5 separate regions of the Homo sapiens genome follow, and all the other regions are linked to region 1. Evidence: promoter capture Hi-C in 16 types of primary human blood cells and fetal thymus (Javierre and others, 2016). All regions are on one chromosome and are shown on one strand. Each heading gives the region's core, a stretch centred on a gene start or on the middle of the fragment in contact. The rest is flanking DNA. Distances are from core to core; before and after follow the strand shown. Region 1 holds the start of BCL2A1 (BCL2 related protein A1). Region 2 overlaps ST20-MTHFS (ST20-MTHFS readthrough). Region 3 overlaps ST20-MTHFS (ST20-MTHFS readthrough). Region 4 overlaps ZFAND6 (zinc finger AN1-type containing 6). Region 5 overlaps ST20-MTHFS (ST20-MTHFS readthrough).

The links. The method cuts DNA at HindIII sites, captures the fragments that hold promoters and counts their contacts. A CHiCAGO score of 5 or more calls a contact.
Region 2: a contact is called between a fragment that was not itself captured here and the fragment with the promoter of BCL2A1 in region 1, in 6 of 17 cell types (activated CD4 T cells, neutrophils, total CD8 T cells and 3 more). The highest score is 7.5, in activated CD4 T cells.
Region 3: a contact is called between a fragment that was not itself captured here and the fragment with the promoter of BCL2A1 in region 1, in 3 of 17 cell types (neutrophils, monocytes and activated CD4 T cells). The highest score is 7.1, in neutrophils.
Region 4: a fragment that was not itself captured here is called in contact with the fragment with the promoter of BCL2A1 in region 1 in 1 of 17 cell types (neutrophils); the score reaches 6.8 in neutrophils.
Region 5: a contact is called between a fragment that was not itself captured here and the fragment with the promoter of BCL2A1 in region 1, in 3 of 17 cell types (monocytes, neutrophils and total B cells). The highest score is 12.1, in monocytes.

What each region holds. Positions count from the first base shown.
Region 1 is chr15:79,969,703-79,972,553 of GRCh38, forward strand. BCL2A1 (BCL2 related protein A1) reads right to left here and starts at 1,494. Exons shown (of 2, transcript NM_004049.4): 1 at 998-1,494. The coding sequence starts at 1,417. RefSeq lists an enhancer at 918-2,117. The HindIII fragment of the contact is 17,831 bases long and covers 1-2,851 here.
Region 2 is chr15:79,859,350-79,862,200 of GRCh38, forward strand. The region is part of intron 3 of ST20-MTHFS (ST20-MTHFS readthrough); the gene reads right to left. All of the region lies in intron 2 of MTHFS (methenyltetrahydrofolate synthetase), which reads right to left. Among named protein-coding and RNA genes, the nearest start is that of MTHFS, 36 kb to the right of the region's middle. The HindIII fragment of the contact is 521 bases long and covers 1,238-1,758 here.
Region 3 is chr15:79,877,260-79,880,110 of GRCh38, forward strand. The region is part of intron 3 of ST20-MTHFS (ST20-MTHFS readthrough); the gene reads right to left. The region is part of intron 2 of MTHFS (methenyltetrahydrofolate synthetase); the gene reads right to left. Among named protein-coding and RNA genes, the nearest start is that of MTHFS, 18 kb to the right of the region's middle. The HindIII fragment of the contact is 467 bases long and covers 1,125-1,591 here.
Region 4 is chr15:80,067,762-80,070,612 of GRCh38, forward strand. All of the region lies in intron 1 of ZFAND6 (zinc finger AN1-type containing 6), which reads left to right. Among named protein-coding and RNA genes, the nearest start is that of ZFAND6, 9.5 kb to the left of the region's middle. The HindIII fragment of the contact is 4,201 bases long and covers 1-2,851 here.
Region 5 is chr15:79,904,897-79,907,747 of GRCh38, forward strand. It overlaps ST20-MTHFS (ST20-MTHFS readthrough), which reads right to left. Exons shown (of 4, transcript NM_001199760.2): 2 at 2,733-2,788. The coding sequence starts at 2,777. It overlaps ST20 (suppressor of tumorigenicity 20), which reads right to left. Exons shown (of 3, transcript NR_037653.2): 2 at 2,733-2,810. Among named protein-coding and RNA genes, the nearest start is that of MTHFS, 9.3 kb to the left of the region's middle. The HindIII fragment of the contact is 6,214 bases long and covers 1-2,851 here.

The DNA of each region.
Region 1 (2,851 bases), core at 244-2,743:
TGTAAAACATATACATAAGCATACATATACATTTTATATAAAACTTTTTTTACAAAAAATGTTTTACAAAGAAGTATTGTTTATTTTCTATGGATAGATTCAGTAGGCATGTTTTGCATGCAAAATAATTGATAACAGTGGTTACCTCTTGGGAGAGGTGAAGGCCGTTGGAGAGAGGATCAATGAACACTTAAGTGCTTTAAAAAAATAATTATTAAGTATATTGGAATATAAAGGAAACCATATACATCCAGCTGTGTCAGGCTTTTTACCAACATGAGTTTCAACACAGGCCTCTACATAGTCTTGGCTTTTTTAGGCACTGATAATAAAGTAAATTTTTATTTGAAAATTCTTGAATAAAGGTTCTTGCTGGTCATACAGTATATTATGTTTTAATCAACAAACTTTAACAGCCCGGAATTTATTATTAGTAATAATGTGTTATATATTATATGTAATGTAATTTGCTATATATTAATATATGTTACTATTTATTATGTATTAGTAAACTGAAAAACACCAATTTGTAAGCGATGAACTTACAAAAATTTACACCTGTCTTTTGCAACCCATAAATACCTAAAAATAACAGCATCTGATAGCAACTTTCTGTGCTGATTGTAGAAATTTCTGTACTGTCTGTACTGTCATGACAACCCTAGCAAAAGCTAAGTACTAGATTAGAGTGTGTGCACAGCTGATTGTGAAGCTGCATGAGAGAGGTGCTTTATTAATCCCCAAAGCTCACTACTGTAATTTATACTGTTAAGAATAAAAACTGAAAACATAAGTGCTTTCCAACTATAAAGTTCAAGTTCAAGGATTCATTGGAAATAAGCCAGAAAGTATATTTTTATTTTAAAAATTAAAACAAACCACCCAAGGAAAATAGTATTCTTAGGTAAAGTGTTTTGTTGTTGTTTTAACTAGCAAGGAAATTCTCAATTTCTATTTCACAGGAAAGAACAATGAAGAATTTTTCCATCACACATACCCAGCCTCCGTTTTGCCTTATCCATTCTCCTGTGTTATTCATTATGAACTCCGCAACAAAATATGAAATCTCCTTATAGGTATCCACATCCGGGGCAATTTGCTGTCGTAGAAGTTTCTTGATGAGAATACCTTCAAATGCAAATATGGTTACAATTCTTCCCCAGTTAATGATGCCGTCTTCAAACTCCTTTTCCATCACTTGGTTGAATAGTGTTCTGGCAGTGTCTACGGACACAACATTAACATTGTCCAAGCATGACTTCAGATTCTTTTCCACTTCTTTTTGGACTGAGAACGCAACATTTTGTAGCACTCTGGACGTTTTGCTTGGACCTGATCCAGGTTGTGGTATCTGTAGGACGCACTGCAGATAGTCCTGAGCCAGCCTGTAAATATATCCAAATTCACAGTCTGTCATCTTCTGCCTGGTGGAGAGCAAAGTCTTGAGCTGGCTCACCTTGAAGCTGTTGAGGCAATGTGCTGAGAATGCTCACTGAGCTTGACTGAGTTATGACACATGATGATACATGGAGGCTGGTGGAATTTCTGTTTGCATCACTTTATAATATCCTTCCTCCTAGTCACTTTCGTGCGTAGGCTGTGTTTCATGTCATGTATGAAAGAGAAAGTTTAAAATGTGAAAGAGGAAAATGTTTCAGAGAAGCCACTTCCTCATCCTGTGATTAATTCAGCTTTGCAAGTCTTAAATGCAGGATGTGGAGAAATTAGAATCCTTGTAGATTGCTGGTGGGAATGTGAAATGGTACAACCCCTGTGAAAATGTTGGCAGTTTCTCAAAAAGTTAAATACAGAATTGTCAAAAGACCCAGCAATTCCATTCATAGGTATACACCCAACAGATACTCAAATACTTACATACGAATGTACATGGCAGCACTATTCACAATAGCCAAGATGTGGACACAACTCAAATGTTCATCAACAGACGAAAGGATAAATAAATTATGGAACATTATTCATCCCAAAAAAGGAATGAAGAACTGATACATGCTTCAACAGGAATGAACCTCAAAAACATTAGGCTAATAGAAAGAAGCCAAACAGAAAAGGTCATACATTATGTGATTCTATTTCTATGAAATATCCAGACAGTTAAATCCATAGGATAGAAAGCAAATTGGTGGTTGACAGGGGCTGAGAAGAGGAAGGAGTAACTGCTTAATGGGTAGAAGGTTTTCTTTTGTGTGATGAAAATGTTTTACAAGGCCGGCCGCGTTGGCTCACGCCTGTAATCCTAGCACTTTGGGAGGACAAGGCGGGCGGATTGCCTGAGCTCAGGAGTTTGAGACCAGCCTGGGCAATATGGTAAATCCCCGTCTGTACTAAAATACAAAAAATTAGCCAGGCGGGTGGCGTGTGCCTGTAATCCCAGCTACTCGGGAGGCTGAGGCAGGAGAATTGCTTGAACCCGGGAGACAGAAGTTGCAGTGAGCCAAGATCACGCCACTGCACTCCAGTCTGGGCAACAGAGCGAGACTCTGTCTCCAAAAAAAAAAAGAAAAGAAAATGTTTTGCAGCTAGATAGAGGTGGAAGTTGCACAACACTGCGAAGGTACTAAATGCCACTGAATTGTTCACTTTAAAATGGTTCTGTGAATTTCAAATTTAAGAAAAGTCTTAAACGCCATCCACGGGGTAAACCGGAGTAACGACAATTTGGAATGGAGACTACAAAACAGCCTGGGTGGCAGAGAACAGGGCCTCTCGAGGTGACTCTGGCAGTACCGCCCTTGATCATTTGTAATTGAGTAAGGATGATACCGAGAGGGAAGAAAAAAATACCCTCTTTGGGCCAGGCACGGTGGCTCACCCCTGTAATCCCAGCACTTTG
Region 2 (2,851 bases), core at 248-2,747, 110 kb before region 1:
TCAAAATACTATGGCACTAGTGCCAAAATAGGCAGATTCCACAGATAGTTTGGAAAAGACAAAAACATCCAGATACACACCCAAACATATATAAGAATTTTGTTCATGAAAAGGTAGGGAAAGGGTAGATTACTCATTAAATGTGTTCGGACACCTGGCTAACATTTCTTTATAAAACATATTCTCAGCCAGGGGCAATGGCTCATGCCTGTAACCCCAGCACTTTGGGAGGCCGAGGCGGGCAGATCACCTGAGGTCAGAAGTTCGAGACCAGCTTGGCCAACATGGTGAAGGCCCGTCTCTTCTAAAAATACAAAAATTAGCCAGGCATAATGGCGGGAGCCTGTAATCCCAGCTACTCGGGAGATTGAGGCAGAAGAATTGCTTGAACCCAGGAGGCAGAGGTTGCAGTGAGCCAAGATTGTGCCACTGCACTCCAGGCTGGAAGACAGAGAGAGAATACATGTCAAAAAAAAAAAAAAAAAAAAACCCTTATTTTCTCTCCCTGTATACATAGGGATTCAAATAAAAATTCAAAAAGGATTAAGACTTTAATATTTAAAAACACAAAATACTAAGATAAAATGATGATGATTTATATAAACTCAAGTGAAGTAAGAACTCCTAAAAATAAAGCCAAAGGCAAAAATCCTAAAAGAAAACATTAATAAACTTTACTAATAACATTTTAAAACATCTGTATCCTCGCCCTCAAAATACAAAAAGTTAAGAAAAAGGTTTAAAAATGAATACAAATTGGCCAGGCGTGGTGGCTCACGCCTGTAATCCTAGCACTTTGGGAGGCCGAGGTGGGCAAATCACGAGGTCAGGAGATGGAGACCATCCTGGCTAACATGGTGAAACCCTGCCTCTACCAAAAATACAAAAAATTAGCCGGGTGTGGTGTCGGGTGCCTGTTGTCTCAGCTACTCGGGAGGCTGAGGCAGGAGAATGGCGTGAACCCAGGAGGCAGAGCTTGCAGTGAACAGAGATCGCACCACTGCACTCCAGCCTGGGCAACAGAGCGAGACTCCATCTCAAAAAAAAAAAAATGGATACAAATTATTTGCAGCATACATGACAGACTAATGGTTAATCTTTTAATATATAAAGAATTGTTACCAACCTGGAAAAAAATAAATGAATACCAAGAGAAAGATAAATTCCCGGAAAGAAATGGGGCAAAGAACAGCACTTTACAAAAGATGAATTAGAAAGGTTAAAAAACATTTTAGAAAGCTTAGTATATATTTTGAAATTTTCATAAGTAGTGTATTTTAACCATTATAACTTTTCAAAGAAGCAAGGAGAAATTAAAATTTAAGGATTTTTTTTTTGATTAGTACTTCAAAACAAAACCAGAAATACTGATAAGACAAAATTAAGTTACTTCCAAGGTTGAAAATTCACACAGATGCCCACAATGAATTTCTTCTGAGAATAACTTTTTCAATATATTAATGAGGTTTCCGGTTACAGTGTACTTTCTTGAGAGACTTATTAAAAGGGGTATGTTTCCTTCTGATACAACCTCATGGCAAACCACTATTCAAAGTTAAAGACTTAATTACAACTTCCCTTCTGAAGCCTTCTCATGCACTTTAGGCAAAGAGAAATCTCCATCTTGTGTTCCCAGAGCACTCTGGGCACATCCCAATGGGATCCTTAGCACCAGGACTGAAATCACTAGTTCATGTGGAATAGTCATCGTCGTCATCATCATCATCAAGCACTTATATGCACTGGCATTGTACTAAAAGCTTTATGTAAATTTCCTATTTAATCTTCAAAACAATCTAGTGAAGCAGATATTATTACCCTCATTTTCAAATGATCAGAGGCTTAGGTGAAGGGGTTTACTCATGTCCACTCAGCTAGTATGCAGCAGTCAGTAACTAGACTCAACTCCACCTAAGACCAAAACCTTGATCCTAACCACTCCTTATCCATCGTCCCCCTCCATACACCTGTCTTCCCCAACAAAATGTGAACTCCTATGGCCAGACACCACTGCCCCTTATTTATCTTTTTGTTTCCAGGGCATCACATGGAGGCTACCACACAACTGGTAGTCATTAATGCACGTTCATTTGTTATTTCGGCCATTCACTCACTCAGGGAGAGGTCAACATACTCTCATGTGTTGGTGATGAGTACGTAAAGTGGCATAACCTTTTTTAGTAAGCAATACAGAAACACCTATAAAAATTTAGAATTCATAGCCATTTCATGGATAGATGTTGATCCCATGGACTTACTTGCATAACTATGCAGAAAAATATCTATCAGGATGTTCTTTTTTATTTTTATTTGTAATACCTAAAAAACAGAAGCAACCCAAATAGCTATCAACAGAAGACTGGTTAAATAACTTAGAGCACATCAATGCTATGTAACCACTTAAAACACTATGCTAAATCTATATGTGTTGCTATGAAAAGAGTTCTATGGTTTATCAACAAGTGAAAAAGTAGGATGCAAAACAAAATGTGAACTCCGATCCTATCTGTATAAATTTTTTAAAAGGATACAAATATATATATCTAGAAGGATACACAAGTATGTTAACAGTGGTCACATCTGGGGAACAGGCTGGGAAGAAGAGGGGTGGGACTTTTTCTTTCATACCCTTCTAAACCATTTAAATTATTTACCATGTGATTAGTTAGATGGCATGTAATTACTTTTATGAATGAATGAATTGTTGCTCTACTGTTTGGCTTTTTTTTTTCCTTTTTGTTGTTTCTAACACCAACATAGACTAAGATGAAGTACAGTTAACTTGGGTTGGCCAAGACGGCTAACTGAATCAATCCTCTCATATCCCTGTTTTTCATTCAAAGACTATGTC
Region 3 (2,851 bases), core at 108-2,607, 93 kb before region 1:
ATAAGAGTCCTAGAAGGAGAAGAGAGACAATGTGGCAGGAAAAAAATTTTTTTTGAAAAATAATGGCTGAGAACCTCCTATAGTTGATGAAAAAATTAATCTACAGACCCAAGAAGCTCAATAAATCCCATATAGGATAAAACTAAAGAAATCTACACATGCCAGGCACGGTGGCTCATGCCTGTAATCCCAGCACTTTGGGAAGCCACGGCGGGTGGATCACGAGGTCAGGAAATCAAGACCATCCTAGCCCACATGGTGAAACCCCATCTCTACTAAAAATACAAAAAAATTAGCCAAGCGTAGCAGTGCACACCTGTAGTCCTAGCTACTTGGGAGGCTGAGGCAGGAGAATTGCTTGAACCCGGGAGGCAGAGGCTGCAGTGAGCCAAGATCATGTCACTGCACTTCAGCCTGGTGACAGAGCGAGACTCTATCTCAAAAAAAAAAGAAAAGAAATCTACATTTTTACACATCAGAGTCAAACTGCTGAAAGAGAAAAATAACTTATTATAAAAAGGGAAATACAAAAATAGAATGAATGATGACTTCTCATCAGAAACAATGGAGGCCACAAGGCAGAAGAATAACATTGAACATGCTGAAAGGAAAAAAAATACATATGTCAACTAAGAATTTCATATTCAGCAAAACCCTTTCAAAAATAGAGGCAGAATAAGACATTCCTAGATAAACAAAAACTGAGAGAATTAATTACTGGCAGAGCTGTCTGAGAAAGACTAAAGAAAATCCTTTGGGCCAAAAGGAAATTACACTGGATGGTAACTTGAATTCACAGGAAAGAATGAAGAACACTGGAAACAGTAAGTAGGAAGGTAAACACAAAAGACTGGTTTTTTCTCTTTTCTTCTATTCCTTTTTAAAACATAAGAGTTCTTAAAGCAATAATTATAATACTATTTGTTAGATTTATAGTACATACAGATGTAACTTATACTGTCGTGTGAATTAGGAGGACAAGAGAGACCTCGGGGTAAACCAGGAGGATCTTTTCTGAGTGCACTCAGACCCAGCAGACTCAACATCCAAAAACTGAGCCAAGAACAAAGACAGCACTTGACGCTTATACACACTTCTAAAAGGGGATGGGCTAACTTGAGTCAAGCTTACACTGGCGCAAAGCAAAAGCAAGGATACAGAGGCAAGACAAGACGGTTAATCAAATTGTAACAGGTTCATAACTCAGGATTACACATGACCATTGCTATGCAACTCAGATGGCCATTATCTAGTTTGCCGTAGTGCCTAGCAAGGCTTATTCCATGGCCTTCACTATGGTGCCCAGGTGGCCGTATCTCAGGCCTGCTCAGTTGCTTTATGACCATCACTCCACTGCTTAGATAAAACAGAATACTAGAAGTCACTAGTTACAGGGAACAGGAATCTATAAACTCATACTGTAAAACAAAGAGAAATTTGTTTTTCTTCTCCCTATGTGGAGGGAGTGGTGGGAGAGTCTCCAGAGCACATTCTTCTGTGTCCTGGCTTCTTAGATAGTATTATCAAGACTTTTCCTGGGTTTCAGCTGTGCTTGTTGCTGCCTCTGGGACAAGTCAGCCTAGCACAGGAAAGCTTATTCCCTTTTTTTTTTTCTTTCTTTCTTTAATTTCCTGCCTCAATATGACAATAATAACATAAATGGGGAAGGAAGAATGGAATTATATAAGAGCAAAGTTGCTGTATTTTACTGGAGTCAGATGAATACTAATCTGAAACAGACTGTACTAAATAAAAGATGTAATCCCTCCAGAAACTGCAAAAACAATTTAATACATAGCTTAAAAATCAACAGAGGAACTAAAACAGCACATCAAAAAAAATTTAACACAAAAAATTTTCATTTTCATTTGTATCATGCTTTTCATTTGTATCATCCATTAGTGGAATTTTGAAATTCCACTAAATGACCAGTACTTCCCAAATTTTTCACTAAGGTAACTGCAGAGAAAGTTAAAATCCCTGGAGGGTCTGCCTGCAGGCCTGCCCACAGAGGCAAAGTTTTTGCTTTAATATTTTGTGTTTTACCTTTAAATTATTACCCTTTTTTTTTTTTTTTTTTTTTTTTGAGTCAGAGTCTCACTCTGTCCCCCAGGCTGGAGTCCAATGGTGTGATCTTGGCTCACTGCAACTTCCGCCTCCTGGGTTCAAGCAATTCTCCTGCCTCAGCCTCCTGAGTAGCTGGGATTACAGGCACCCACCAGCATGCCCAGCTAATTTTTTTCCTTAAAATTTGTGAATTTTATTTATCTTCTATATGCTACCTTTGTGATTGTATTTGTTATAAAACTAATGTGTGGTTTGTATGTTTATATGTTTGTTTTTCTGGTTTGTTTCTGCTAAAATGTTGAAGTAAAATTAATAGTTGAAGAAAATTTACCCAATAAGGCCTGTAATAGATGCATGCCTTCTTGAGAAGCAGAGGCCTAAATCAGTGGCTTTCAAACATTTTAGAAACTCAGTAAGAAAAACATCATGACCCATTTTATACACAGCACATGCATATACACACACACATGCACACATATATACACACAAAACTCTGACTAAAATCAAAATTTCTTTCCTAGCTCTTTCTTGTTTTTTAATTAATCACAGGACTTCTTACAAGTGATTCTGGTTCCCTGTGTCACTACACCCAAAGAACACTTAAATTTTTACAGTGGATTTGACTGCTTTAACCCAAAGTAATGACATGGGCAGTTAGGAAGATATTTTTTGTTTCTGTTCAATTTCCATCTCATGATTTGCTGCCTACTTCATCCAACAGTAAATTAGTTTATTCTGCTTTTGTTCTTTTTTTTCTTTTTAAGACGGAGTCTCGCTCTGTCGC
Region 4 (2,851 bases), core at 243-2,742, 98 kb after region 1:
ATATTTTATTTAAATAGTCACATCTGACTATTGAGATATGGCAAGTCTGAACTGATGTATTAAGTTTGAAATAGGAACTTGATTTCTAGTACCAAACAATGAAAATATCTCAATTTTTAAAATATTACATATTGAAGTAGTGATATTTTACATGTATTGTGTTAAAATATACTATTACTGTTAATTTTATTTCTTAATTAAAAAAATTTTTTTTTCTTGAGACGGAATCTTACTCTGTTGCCCAGGCTGGAGTGCAGTGGCACAATCTCGGCTCACTGCAACCTCTGCCTCCTGGGTTCAAGTGATTCTCCTGCCTCTGCTTCCCAAGTAGCTGGGACTACAGGCGAGCACCACCGCGCCTGGCCTGTTTTTTTTTTTTTTGTTTGTTTGTTTGTTTGTTTTTGAGACATGGTGTTGCCTTTGTCGCCCAGGATGGAGTGCAGTGATGTGATGTTGGCTCACTGTAGTCTCAACCTCCCTGGCTCAAGGGATCCTCCCACCTCAGCCTCCTAAGTAGCTGGGACTACAGGCGCGCCACCATGCCTGTATAATTTTTAAAAATTTTTAAAATTTTTTGTAGAGATGGGGTTTCACTGTGTTGCCCAGGCTGGTCTTGAACTTTTTTTTTGAGATGGAGTCTCGCTCTGTTGCCCAGGCTGGAGTACAGTGGCACGATCTCGGCTAACTGCAGCCTCCAGCCCCCGGGTTCAAGTGATTCTCCTGCCTCAGCCTCCGGAGTAGCTGGGATTACAGGCGAGTGCCACCACGCCTGGCTAATTTTTGTATTTTAAGTAGAGACTGGGTTTCGCCATATTGGCCAGGCTGGTCTCGAACACCTGACCTCAGGTGATCCGCCCACTGTGGCCTCCCAAAGTGCTGGGATTATAGGCGTGAGCTACCGCGCTCAGCCGGTCTTGAACTTTAGAGCTCAAGTAATCTGTCTGCCTTGGCCTCTGAAAGTCTTGGGATTACAGGCGTGAGCCACCGTGCCCAGCCAATTTTTAAATTTCAATGTGACTACTAGGAAATAGAAAACCACATGTGGCTCTCATTATGTTTCTGTGAGACAGCACTGGTCTGACTCGACCATAAGTTTGTACAGTGGTAGGGACTATATCCATTTTATTTACTGTGGTATCTTCAGCGCATAACAGACGTTCAAAAGATTTGGTGAATGAATAAACTAACTCTGTTAACTTTTGAATGTTATTGCATAGTTTACAGAGAATGTTACCTATTCAGCTTTTGCTTTTCAGAATTGTTTTCTTTGTGACTGATTAAAATGGTTGAGAAAAGCTCTTTCAGTAACTATATAAAGAATGAGTCTTCGTCTTTTATGTAATATTTTATTTATTTTTTTCTGGTTTAGGCCTCCAAGGAGAGAGAGAATTTAAAGTTGGCCAGTCTATTTTCTCTTAGTTTTTCTATGTCTAGCACTTTTTCTTAGATGATCTATGATATGTTGTTTGGCACATGAAAATTTATGACTTAAAATCTTAATAGTTGAGTATTATAAATGCCTTCTCTTTTATTTTTGTCTCACTATTGTGATCCCTGTTTCTTTTTATTTTGCATTAATCAGTGACCTTGTTTATCCCTTGAGACCTAAAACAAAGCAATGTACTGTTTTTTTGTAGAAAGATACCTTATCCTATCGGCTTGGTTTATGCTTGCTTATTTGTATGTTTCCTTAATGTTTCCTTTGTGTTCAGTGTTTGACCTCATATGCCATTCATTCAAACTCCCCAACTCCTCATACACACCTTGTAATCTTTTCCCTAAGGAGTCAGGAGAGATACACCAGGAATTGCAGGCTCAAATATATCTTACTTTTGCCAGGGAAATATTTTTTTTATTTTTTGTTATTTATTTATTTATTTATTTATTTAGAGACAGAGTCTTACTCTATAGCCCAGGCTGGAGTGCAATGTCTGCTGCCCGGGTTCAAGCAATCCTCCTGCCTCAGTCTCCCAAGTAGCTGGGATTACAGGCACCTGCCACTGCACGAGGCTAATTTTTGTAGTTCTAGTAGAGACGGGGTTTCACCATCTTGGCCAGGCTGGTCTTGAACTCCTGACCTTGTGATCCACCTGCCTCTGCCTCCGAAAGTGCTGGGATTTACAGGCGTGAGCCACCACACCTGGCCATATTTTTTTATTTTTTATTCCCCATTGAGGTGTTTTTCAGAGTTTATCCTTAGTGATCCCAGTTATGTTTTGCTAATGTCAGGGTGGTCTTTTTATCAACTACTACAATAAACCACCAGTCGTGCCAGAGAAAATGCCCAGGATTAATTTCTTTTGTAGGAAGAGCAGTTTGAACTATATGGAATCCTTCAAAATTCTAAGAAAGTGTTTGCCCTGTTCTGTATATATTCTGCCAAAAGTTGTTCCTAATAGTCTAGATATTGATTCTTTATGTAAGTAGGGTCTTTTTAATCAAAAGTGAAGTGGGACCAAATTGTTCAGTGGCTTGTTCTCTTCTAAATTGTTTTTAGCTGATAAGATTTGGGAAACTTTCTGGGCTTCCACAAATAATATACAATACATCTTTGAATACTTGATGCTTAAAAAGTGTTGTTACTGCATGCAATCAGGGAGCTCCAGAGCTTTTTGCAGGCTCCTTGTTCCTGAGAAGCAATATTGTTTTCATATTATCTCGGTTATACATTTTATGGTTGTGACATTGCTTTCTTTTTGTTTTTGCTGTTGTTTTCTGCTGCTGCTGATTTAGAAATGAAATAAGCTAACTCTTAATTTTAACCTGTTTGCTACCTAAAATGGTAATCATCTTGATGTTCTTTCAAGCAGGTCCCAGAGATCTTAAAATGATCCGGAATCACTGAGTCCAC
Region 5 (2,851 bases), core at 254-2,753, 65 kb before region 1:
TAGCTATGCTATACTCACATACTGCATTCTTAATACAAAGTTTCCATAAAGTCTCTGGGCACTTTTAAAATTTAATTAAATTACAGATTGTGGCCAGGCGCGGTGGCTCACACCTGTAATCCTAGCACTTTGGGAGGCTGAGGCAGGCAGATCACGAGGTCAGGAGATCGAGACCATCCTGGCTAACACGGTGAAACCCCGTCTCTACTAAAAATCCAAAAAATTAGCCGGGCGTGGTGGTGGGCGCCTGTAGTCCCAGCTACTCGGGAGGCTGAGGCAGAAGAATGGCAGGAACCTGGGAGGCGGAGCTTGCAGTGAGCCGAGATCACGCCACTGCACTCCAGCCTGGGCGACAGAGCGAGACTCCGTCTCAAAAAAAAAAAAAAAAAAAATTATAGATTGTATGTTTTATGATCAGTGATTTCTTGAGAGTTTTTTCAGGCAAGTTAAAGCCAGTGCTCACATCTTGATAAAGTTGTGAGTGCCTCCTCTACTCTTACCTCTTCTTGCGGGCCACTGACTACTAGCATAAGGAAGTGATTGTGCCATTTCCCCTGAAATGAATCATTCAAGAGTAAATTCATTCATTTGAGCAGATTTGTCAACATCACTATGAAAAGAAGGTAACAGTTTTCCATGTCAGTTTGTACTAACCCAAAAAAGCACTGCCTTTCCTTTCCTTAAGATCAATGTCTCATCTGAGCTGGAAAAGGAGCACATAGATTGCTTTGAAATGACATCTTCAAGAGTATTTATTTCATGTCTACAACCTGAACTATTCAGGTGTTTTTTGTTTTTTGTTTTTTTAAAGAGCTTGGAAACTTTAGAAAGGCTGAGTGTGTGCACATGCAGGCAATGTGTGTATTTGTATCTACACTCGGGAGAGATTCATGCAACTGCACTCATGTTTACATGAGTGTACCACCCTCGAAAGATGAGGGTACTACTAGAAATTCTCACAGACAAGATTCCACAGCCTTTGCTAACAATGAGTTCCAGAAGCTCACAAAATTTATTGTGGAGAAGTTAAATTTTTAAGTAATATTTATTCACTGTCTGTGTGTTCCAAGTACTAAGCTAGGCATTGGAAATACAATCCAAAACCACATAGAGCCGGCAAACTAGTAGAGTATTTCTCTGCAGGCTCATCTGTGGTCCTCTGTGCCAGACAACGTTTGCCTTCACCTGAAATCTACACAGTGCAGCTGAAATTTCCACCAGTCCTCAAGTATAGCCTCCCACAGCCAACTAGAAGAAAACATGACAAAACATTTCACATGCTTCGCCCAGCCTCAGTCAGGCTCAGTTAGAAAGAACTAAGTTCCAGAAAGAAGATGACTAAGAAAGGGGAGTAGCTTCAGTAAGCTCTATCATGCAGGAAGGCCTTAAACAAAATGAAAAAGGCATCAAGTAAAAGATCAATAAATTTGATCGCAACAAATATTTAAACGGCTATAATGACCGAAGACATTGTCAGCTTTAAAGAATAATCAGCAGGCCGGGCGCGATGGCTCACGCCTGTAATCCCAGCACTTTGGGAGGCCAAGGCGGGTGGATCACAAGGTCAGGAGATTGAGACCATCCTGGCTAACACGGTAAAACCCCGTCTCTACTAAAAATACAAAAAATTAACCAGGCGTGGTGGCGGGCACCTGTAGTCCCAGCTACTCGGGAGGCAGAGGCAGGAGAATGGTGTGAACCCAGGAGGCGGAGCTTGCAGTGAGCTGAGATCGCACCACTGCACTCCAGCCTGGGAGACAGAGTGAGACTCCGTCTCAAAAAAATAATAATAATCTTAATAATCAGCAAACTAAAGATAACTGCCACATATATAAAAATAATTTGTATCCAGAATATTCAAAGAATTCCTACAAATCAATAACAGACCAAATAATAGGAAAATGGGCAAAGGATATAAACAGGCAATTCCCTGCATAAGATTTACAAATGATCAGTTAATATATGAAAAGATGCTCAAATGGAAAAATATTTAACCTTACTGGGAATCAAGGAAACAAGAATTAAAACAAGATAAACTCTGCAGTTTTTTAGCCCAACAAATTAAGGAAAGTATAACAGATTGCTACAAACTAACATTAGTCAGCTGGGGTAGGGAGACATGGATACTCTAACAAGCTGCTGATGGGAGTGTAACTTGGTGGAGCCACTTTGGAAGGCAAGGACCTAGTAAATGAAAAAATGTACGTACACCATGACCCAGCATCTACAACCCAACATCCACCCTAGAAAACTACACACATGCATGAGGAAAAATGACATTCAATAAAGCACTGTGTGTGATAACAAACCTGAAATAACCTAAACAGCTATCAGCCACAAATGGCCAGATACTCTACAGCATTTACATACATTAGAATATACATAGCACTTTTAATAATACTATTTTAAATACCTTTGGATAAAAAAAGTTGCAGAATTACCACCATGTACTGTTTTTACATATACACATGTAAATATATGTATGCAAGATTTTTATGTATATATAAAATACATAAACATACATGTACATATATGTACATATATGTATGCTCATATAAAACATTTTACATAAAACATTTACAAAAACTTTTTTTACAAAGAAGTATTATGTTAGCCTGGCCAACATGGTGAAACCCCATCTTTACTAAAAATAAGCACCAAAAAAATTAGCCAGGCGTGGTGGCAGCCACCTGTATTCCCAGCTACTCCAGACTCTGAGGCAGGAGACTCACCTGAACCTGGGAGACAGAGGTTGCAGTGAGCCGAGATCGCGCCATTGCACTCCAGCCTGGGCGACAGAATGAAACTCTCTTAAAAATAAATAAATAAATAAGAAAGAAATAACTTATAT